Regions from separate parts of the Homo sapiens genome. Here region 2 is linked to region 1. The links are contacts of gene promoters, found by promoter capture Hi-C in human tissues and cell types (Jung and others, 2019). All regions are on one chromosome and are shown on one strand. Each heading gives the region's core, a stretch centred on a gene start or on the middle of the fragment in contact. The rest is flanking DNA. Distances are from core to core; before and after follow the strand shown. Region 1 holds the start of CNIH1 (cornichon family member 1). Region 2 overlaps LOC105370502 (a long non-coding RNA gene).

Region 1 (3,416 bases), core at 761-3,260:
ATTTTTTGAAAGTGCGGTTCAGGTTTTCCTTAAGCCAAACACAACCTGGTTCAAAACGTAAAAATGTGAAAAAGCCTACCCCACCACTCTAAGAATCCCCATCATCCCAGAAAAAAGGAATACCCATCAAGCAGAATGACTTAAAGCTACATCTACAGATGGAATGGAACCACACACTTTCTTTCTTTCTTTTTTTTTGTTTTTTTTTTGAGACGGAGTCTCCGCCCAGGATGGAGTGCAGTGGCGCCATCGCGGCTCACTGCAACCTCTGCCTCCTGGGTTCAAGTGATTCTCCTCCGCCTCAGCCTCCCGAGTAGCTGGGATTACAGGCGCCCACCACCATGCCCGGCTAATTTTTTTGTATTTTTAGTAGAGACGGGGTTTCACCATGTTGGCCAGGCTGGTCTCGAACTCCTGACCTCGTGATCCTCCCGCCTCGGCCTCCCAAAGTGCTGGGATTACAGGAGTGAGCCACCGCGCCCGGCCATGGAACCACACATTTTCATCAGAGGCCTACTAAGGTTGAGCTAGTCTGTATCCCAAATTATCTTAGGTATTGTTCTTCCATCAAAGCAGGGCTGAAGATGCTCTTCAAATTACTGCTCCTACTGACAAGCATTCTGAGGTAGCAGTTATTTCCGACACAGTTAATAGCCTACATAAGTATTCCTGATTACAATAAGCAGTCAGGTCCTAAAATAATTGTAAACATAATCACACTGCTTAGCAAAAAGGAATGGATTTGTGATATGCTTCCACTTTCGAGACTTTTTTGCACAAGACGCTGCTGCTGTTTAATCATTCTGCCCCTCCGTATGTTTCATAGAAATCCTTGTTACTGGCATGATGAAACCTGACTTAAAATCTACGTAAGAGTGAACGCGGTCATTCAAATTAAAAGCAACATTCCAGAAGGCACTGGAATATGGGGAAAAGAGAAGCAAGTATGAGATAAATTTTTAATGAATGATTTCCAGAAGGCTCTCAAGGCTTTTAATTTTGTGCTAAAGCAACAGAAATTCTTATCTCTGTAGAACTATGTCACAGGGAACTTACGACTTTTTCCTTAGAGGGACCAGTAAGGCTGTGCTTCCACCCTGCAATAGTGATGATGATGTGTGTAACAGAAATAAATACTGCCCCAGAAAAGCTTAAGGTTTCTGAGCATCTCAAAATCAAATGAAAACTCCCTCTACTAAATCAAGCAATCCTGAATATAAGGGTGGCTTGGAAAGCTGCCTGTTGAAACTCCAGCGGTCAAAGTATGATTTGGGGGGGAAACGCGCACATGCAATCAACAAAGTAATCAATTGAACTTGCATCAAAGTTCACCAGGAAACAACAATCTGGAAAAAGAGAAAAAAAGTGATTTGATTTGAAGAGCACCGAACAAGTGCTGAAAAGTAGAGTTGGAAATTCACCCTAAGTAGGTTACATTTTGGCCACAGTTCTGTGGAAACCCTAAAAGAAAGTCAATCTGTATTAACAAAAATTCGGAAAACTTCATTCACACTACGGCCGTCCCACCGCGCTGTCGACATCCTCCCCGGGAATGCAGGGCCGCGGGCCGGCAGAGGTCGGTGCGAACGCAGCGCGGAACCGCGGGCGCCCGCCTGGACCGCGGCCGCCCCATCCAGTAGGGGAGGAGTAGCGGTGCGCGCGGCCTGTGCCGAGGCAACGCGGGCGCGTCCACCTGGCGACTGCGCGCCCCGGCTCCTCCAGTACCCGCGGCCCCCAGACCCCTCGCCGCGCGGCCCGTGCCAGCCGGGCCGCATCCCCGACGCGCAAAGCCCCGGCGGCCGTGGCGGCCCGGACCGCGGGCCCGGGGCGAAAAGAGGCTGTGTTGCCGCCTCGCCCTCCTTTCCCCAGCCCCAGCTACTCACGTGCCAAATGGCGAAGAAGATGAGCGCGGCAGTGAGCAGCAGCGCCAGCATGTAGCAGAAGGCCGCGAACGTGAACGCCATGGCTGGGGAGGAGGAGCGGGGAGCGGCGCCGTTGCCAGCGGAGAAAGGCGGCGCAGGGCCCTCTGGGTAAAACCATTCACTTCCCCCGGCCACAGCCGCGACCGCCACCGCTACCGCCGCGGCGCCAGCCCTCTCAGCGCGCCTGCGCACCAGCCCAGCCGCCCCGGCGCCCTCTGATGGCCGGAGTCTGCGTTGCACTGACATTGTCCGCACAGTTGTTGATTGATTTTTCCTTCCTTCTTGCGTTTATTCTTTCAACAAATATTTATTGAATGAATGCCTAGTTTGTTACAGGTACCGCGCTTCTCGCTTCAGATACAAAGATGAATAAGATAGTACCTGCACTGAAAGAACTTAGTATAGTGCCGGAAATGAACACCTAAATAAATAATTACGTTATTATAACCCCGTAAACGGATGTGTGTGGGATGCTCTGAAAGGTCAAAGAAGGACAGCCAGCCCGCCCTGGAGCATTTAGGCAGGATTCCTGCTGTAGGTGTTTCCTAAGTTGGCCTTAGATGATGATAAGTTCTCCAGGCAAAAAGAAGGTAGAACTGGCAGTCCAAGGAAACAGTTCAGAATGAGGAAACGCAACAGAGATGGAAAAAAGAAAAGAAAAATAAAGCTTCGTGTCTCAGGTGAAACCAGCAGCAATTCTGTATTAATGGAACCTAAGTGCAAGACAGTGGTGAGACTTAGAAATGAATTAGCAAGGGATCAGATCATAGAGGGCCTTATAATGCTTCATTACGGAGCTCAGACTTCTTATCCCATAAGCCCAAATTTTTTGCTCACCACACACAACTAGAAAGATTTTTTTCATTGCAACCCAGTGGAATATCATACAGACATCAAGTTATGAAGAGGTGGAAATCTAGTTATAGAGGCAAAGAAATATAGATATGACCAAAACAAAAATTTCACAAAACTGTACTAATGATCCATAAGTACTTTCCCTTCTCTCTTTTGCTACTTGTTTTTAATGCTGGTCTTAACACACAAAATTGATTCAAAATTGATTTAACTTTCCATTACAACCATTTTTAAAAGAAAAAAACTCTATTAACTGATTGCTGCTGATGGAAGAGAAAATCATTGAAGGCTTTTGAGCAAAAGAAGACCATGTTTAGATTTGCATTAAAGATCGTTCACCTAGCAAATTGCGTAGAATAGTTTAGAAGCAGGGTCTGTCCAGTGCTGTGCAATAGAACCTTCTGTGATGGTGAAAATTTTCGATACCTAAACATTGCCCAATACAGTAGCCACTAGCCACATGTGGCCATTGGGCACTTGTAAATTGTCTAGCATGACTGAGGAACTGAACTTTAAATTTCACATCACTTTAAGTAAAATGTGGCTAGTGTATTGGACAGTACAACCTGTACCACCAGGATTATGTGGCACCTGTGTGCAAATTATCAAGTTACTTTTGGCCAGGCACAGCAGCTCATG
Region 2 (3,313 bases), core at 184-2,683, 1.2 Mb before region 1:
TTAATGGCATTTCCTACCTTCAAATTGTCTGAAAATTTGATCACTGGGCCACAAATACCCTCATTCAAGTTGTCAGTAAGAGCTTGAAGTAGTTAGGGACAAGGTCGGTGCTCTGGGGAATGCTTTTGGAAATCTCTGTCCGCGGTGACTTTGACTCATAACTCAGCATTCTTTGGGTTTGGTTCTATGTGTACTTTTGAGCAGTCGCTTTATTCATCTTGTCCATAAGGACATCATGACTGCTGAAATGCAGATTTTTAGTACCTATAGCAGTTCTGAGATTTTTACCACATTACGAATCTTAGGAAAAAATGTTTGTCATGAGTGTTCTTGAATTCAGTGTAATTCCTTGTGATCACAATTTTCTAAGTGTTTAATATATTTAAAATAATTCTAGAGATTTTCCTAGAATCAATGGTGGATTTATTTGCCACCCATTTTGTTTTATATAATTTATATTCTTCCCTTTGTTGAAAATCAGTGGGGGAAAAGATATTCTCCAGATTTCTGGCACCTGTTCTCTTTTCTGTGGGATGCCATTGCTAATCTTAGAAAAGTTTCAGAAAAAGGATAAAACTGGAAACCAGATTTCAAGGTGCTGAGTTAATTAGAGGGGAATAAAAGCTGGATCTTAGGTTTAATAATGCTTTTCCTTAATATGTACAAAGCATTTTTGTGTTTTGAGTTCAGCCATAAGAATACAAACTTCAGTCCGTTAGGAAATTTATGTGTAGAGAACCCTTTGGCCAATTCCTGGCACTTCTCCTTTCCGTCAGATGGTTATATTTCACAATAGCACAATTTATTGAATTTGGCACATTGTCATCTTTTTTTTTTTTTTAACATGAATACAAATCATGCTGTTTCAAATATCTCTTTGACAATTACAATTGCCTGGAAATGTAAGATTATCAGAAAAGGTACATCATAAGAGTTGTACCTAATGAAGAATTTTAACTATTAGTCTTCTAAAGGTTATTATTTCAGTCTTTTATTTCTTTTATTAATCTAGTACACATTTATTAAACATTTCTTTTGTATTATGAGTGATACTAAGTCTGTATGTGTGAAAGTAATTTTGTTTTTTTTCCTTTTTTTTATTATTATTTTATTTTATTTTATTATTATTATACTTTAAGTTTTAGGGTACATGTGCACAATGTGCAGGTTAGTTACATATGTATACATGTGCCATGCTACTGTGCTGCACCCATTAACTTGTCATTTAGCATTAGGTATATCTCCTAATGCTATCCCTACCCCCTACCCCCACCCCACAACAGTCCCCAGAGTGTGATGTTCCCCTTCCTGTGTCCATGTGTTCTCATTCTTCAATTCCCACCTATGAGTGAGAATATGCAGTGTTTGGTTTTTTGTCCTTGTGATAGTTTACTGAGAATGATGATTCCCAATTTCATCCATGTCTCTACAAAGGACATGAACTCATCATTTTTTATGGCTGCATAGTATTCCGTGGTGTATATGTGCCACATTTTCTTAATCCAGTCTATCATTGTTGGACATTTGGGTTGGTTCCAAGTCTTTGCTATTGTGAATAGTGCCACAATAAACATACGTGTGCATGTGTCTTTATAGCAGCATGATTTATAGTCCTTTGGGTATATACCCAGCAATGGGATGACTGGGTCAAATGGTATTTCTAGTTCTAGATCCCTGAGGAATTGTCACACTGACTTCCACAATGGTTGAACTAGTTTACAGTCCCACCAACAGTGTAAAAGTGTTCCTATTTCTCCACATCCTCTCCTCAATCTTTTATTCTTAAAGGGTAAGAGGCTTGTGAGAGGTTTACTTAGTTCCTGCACTCAGCTTTGGTTTGACCAAATGCATAACTGAGCTTCTCTTTATCATTCTGAGACTCAGCTGCAGCAACACTAGAGTTGGCAGTGTTGGCCGAGTACCTCTTCCTAGTACTGTACGAGATATTTTAATTCACATTTTGGCAAGAGGAGATTCCAGCATCTGCTGATTGAAACCCAGGATTCAGGGACCTGAAATGGATTATGTAGCCCGTTTCTAGTACAATGTTAAAACAGATCACTCCAAGTCTAGAAAGTTTTGTATTATCTGGGCTGCTTTTTTAAACACCAAGATCAAAGTTAACCCTATAAACATTCCTTACATTATGGCACAGATGTCTTTGTGAAGAGTTGGTAGAAATTGAGTAGAAGACTGGATTATATTTTATAGGAACTCTGGTGACTTACTTATAAGTTAAAGGTATGCTATTAAGATCTTTATTTTGTTTGAAAGAACACTCTCTAATATATCTTCTGTGTAGCTGTGGATTTTTATTTGATAATTTTTCTTAAAATAGATTTTTTTAAAGTCACCTGACTCTGCTTCTTTAAGACAGACTATAAAAACAACGGAAACCGGGCACGGTGGTTCATGCCTGTAATCCCAGCATTTTGGGAGGCTGGGGTGGGTGGATCACCTCAGGTCAGGAGTTCGAGACCAGCCTGGCCAACATGGTGAAAACCCGTCTCTACTAAAAATACAAAAATTAGCTGGGTGTGGTGGCGGGTGCCTGTAATCCCAGCTACTTTCAGGAGGCTGAGGCAGGAGAATTGTTTGAACTTGGGAGGCGGAGGCTGCAGTGAGCCGAGTTCGCGCCATTGCACTCCAGTCTGGGCAACGAGCGAAATTCTGTCTCAAAACAAACAAACAACAAAAAACAATGGAGCACTCTGGAAGTCAGCTTTTTAGGACCACATGCTGTGACATCTGACACTTGGCATCCTTAATGTTGAGGGCACTTTCTTTGGGAGGTACATTGGCCTATTTCTAAGAAAAATATATATCATAATTATTGTATAAAACAGTTACTGATCTTTTTTTTTTAAAGATGGTAGTAAGTTGAGAAAATTCAAGTAAACATTAAGTAAACTTTAAATATTAAGTAAAGCTTTATTTTAAAAGCTGTTAGAAGTTTCTTTTCTGGCTGTTTAGATAATGCTGGGTAAAGACATTATTTTACAATAAGTAAGTGATTTGAAGAGAATAAAATGATATATTTGGTATAATCAACATTAATGCAATCATAAATAATAGAAAACTCTCATGTTTGGAACACATAGTTTAGATTTTAAGGTAATTTGAATATATCATGTGTGATTACTTAGAGATCAACTATTCTCAGCCCTGGCTGTGCATTAGAATTACTGAGGAACATTTTAAAAATACTGATGTCTGGGTCTCACACTCGGAGATTCTGATTTAATTTGGGAAGTGGATCAGACTCTATATTCTCAGAGATCCATGGGGAAATTCTAATGTATAGTCAAAGCTG

The links. The method cuts DNA at HindIII sites, captures the fragments that hold promoters and counts their contacts. A contact is called where the count stands out against the background at its distance.
Region 2: a fragment that was not itself captured here is called in contact with the fragment with the promoter of CNIH1 in region 1 in 1 of the 25 tissues and cell types used here (hippocampus).

What each region holds. Positions count from the first base shown.
Region 1 is chr14:54,439,364-54,442,779 of GRCh38, forward strand. It overlaps CNIH1 (cornichon family member 1), which reads right to left and starts at 2,011. Exons shown (of 5, transcript NM_005776.3): 1 at 1,884-2,011. The coding sequence starts at 1,964. RefSeq lists silencers at 1,485-1,534, 1,545-1,904, 1,945-2,214 and enhancers at 1,620-2,418, 2,295-2,354. The HindIII fragment of the contact is 6,683 bases long and covers 160-3,416 here.
Region 2 is chr14:53,208,799-53,212,111 of GRCh38, forward strand. The region is part of intron 5 of LOC105370502 (a long non-coding RNA gene); the gene reads left to right. Among named protein-coding and RNA genes, the nearest start is that of DDHD1-DT, 57 kb to the left of the region's middle. The HindIII fragment of the contact is 4,655 bases long and covers 1-3,313 here.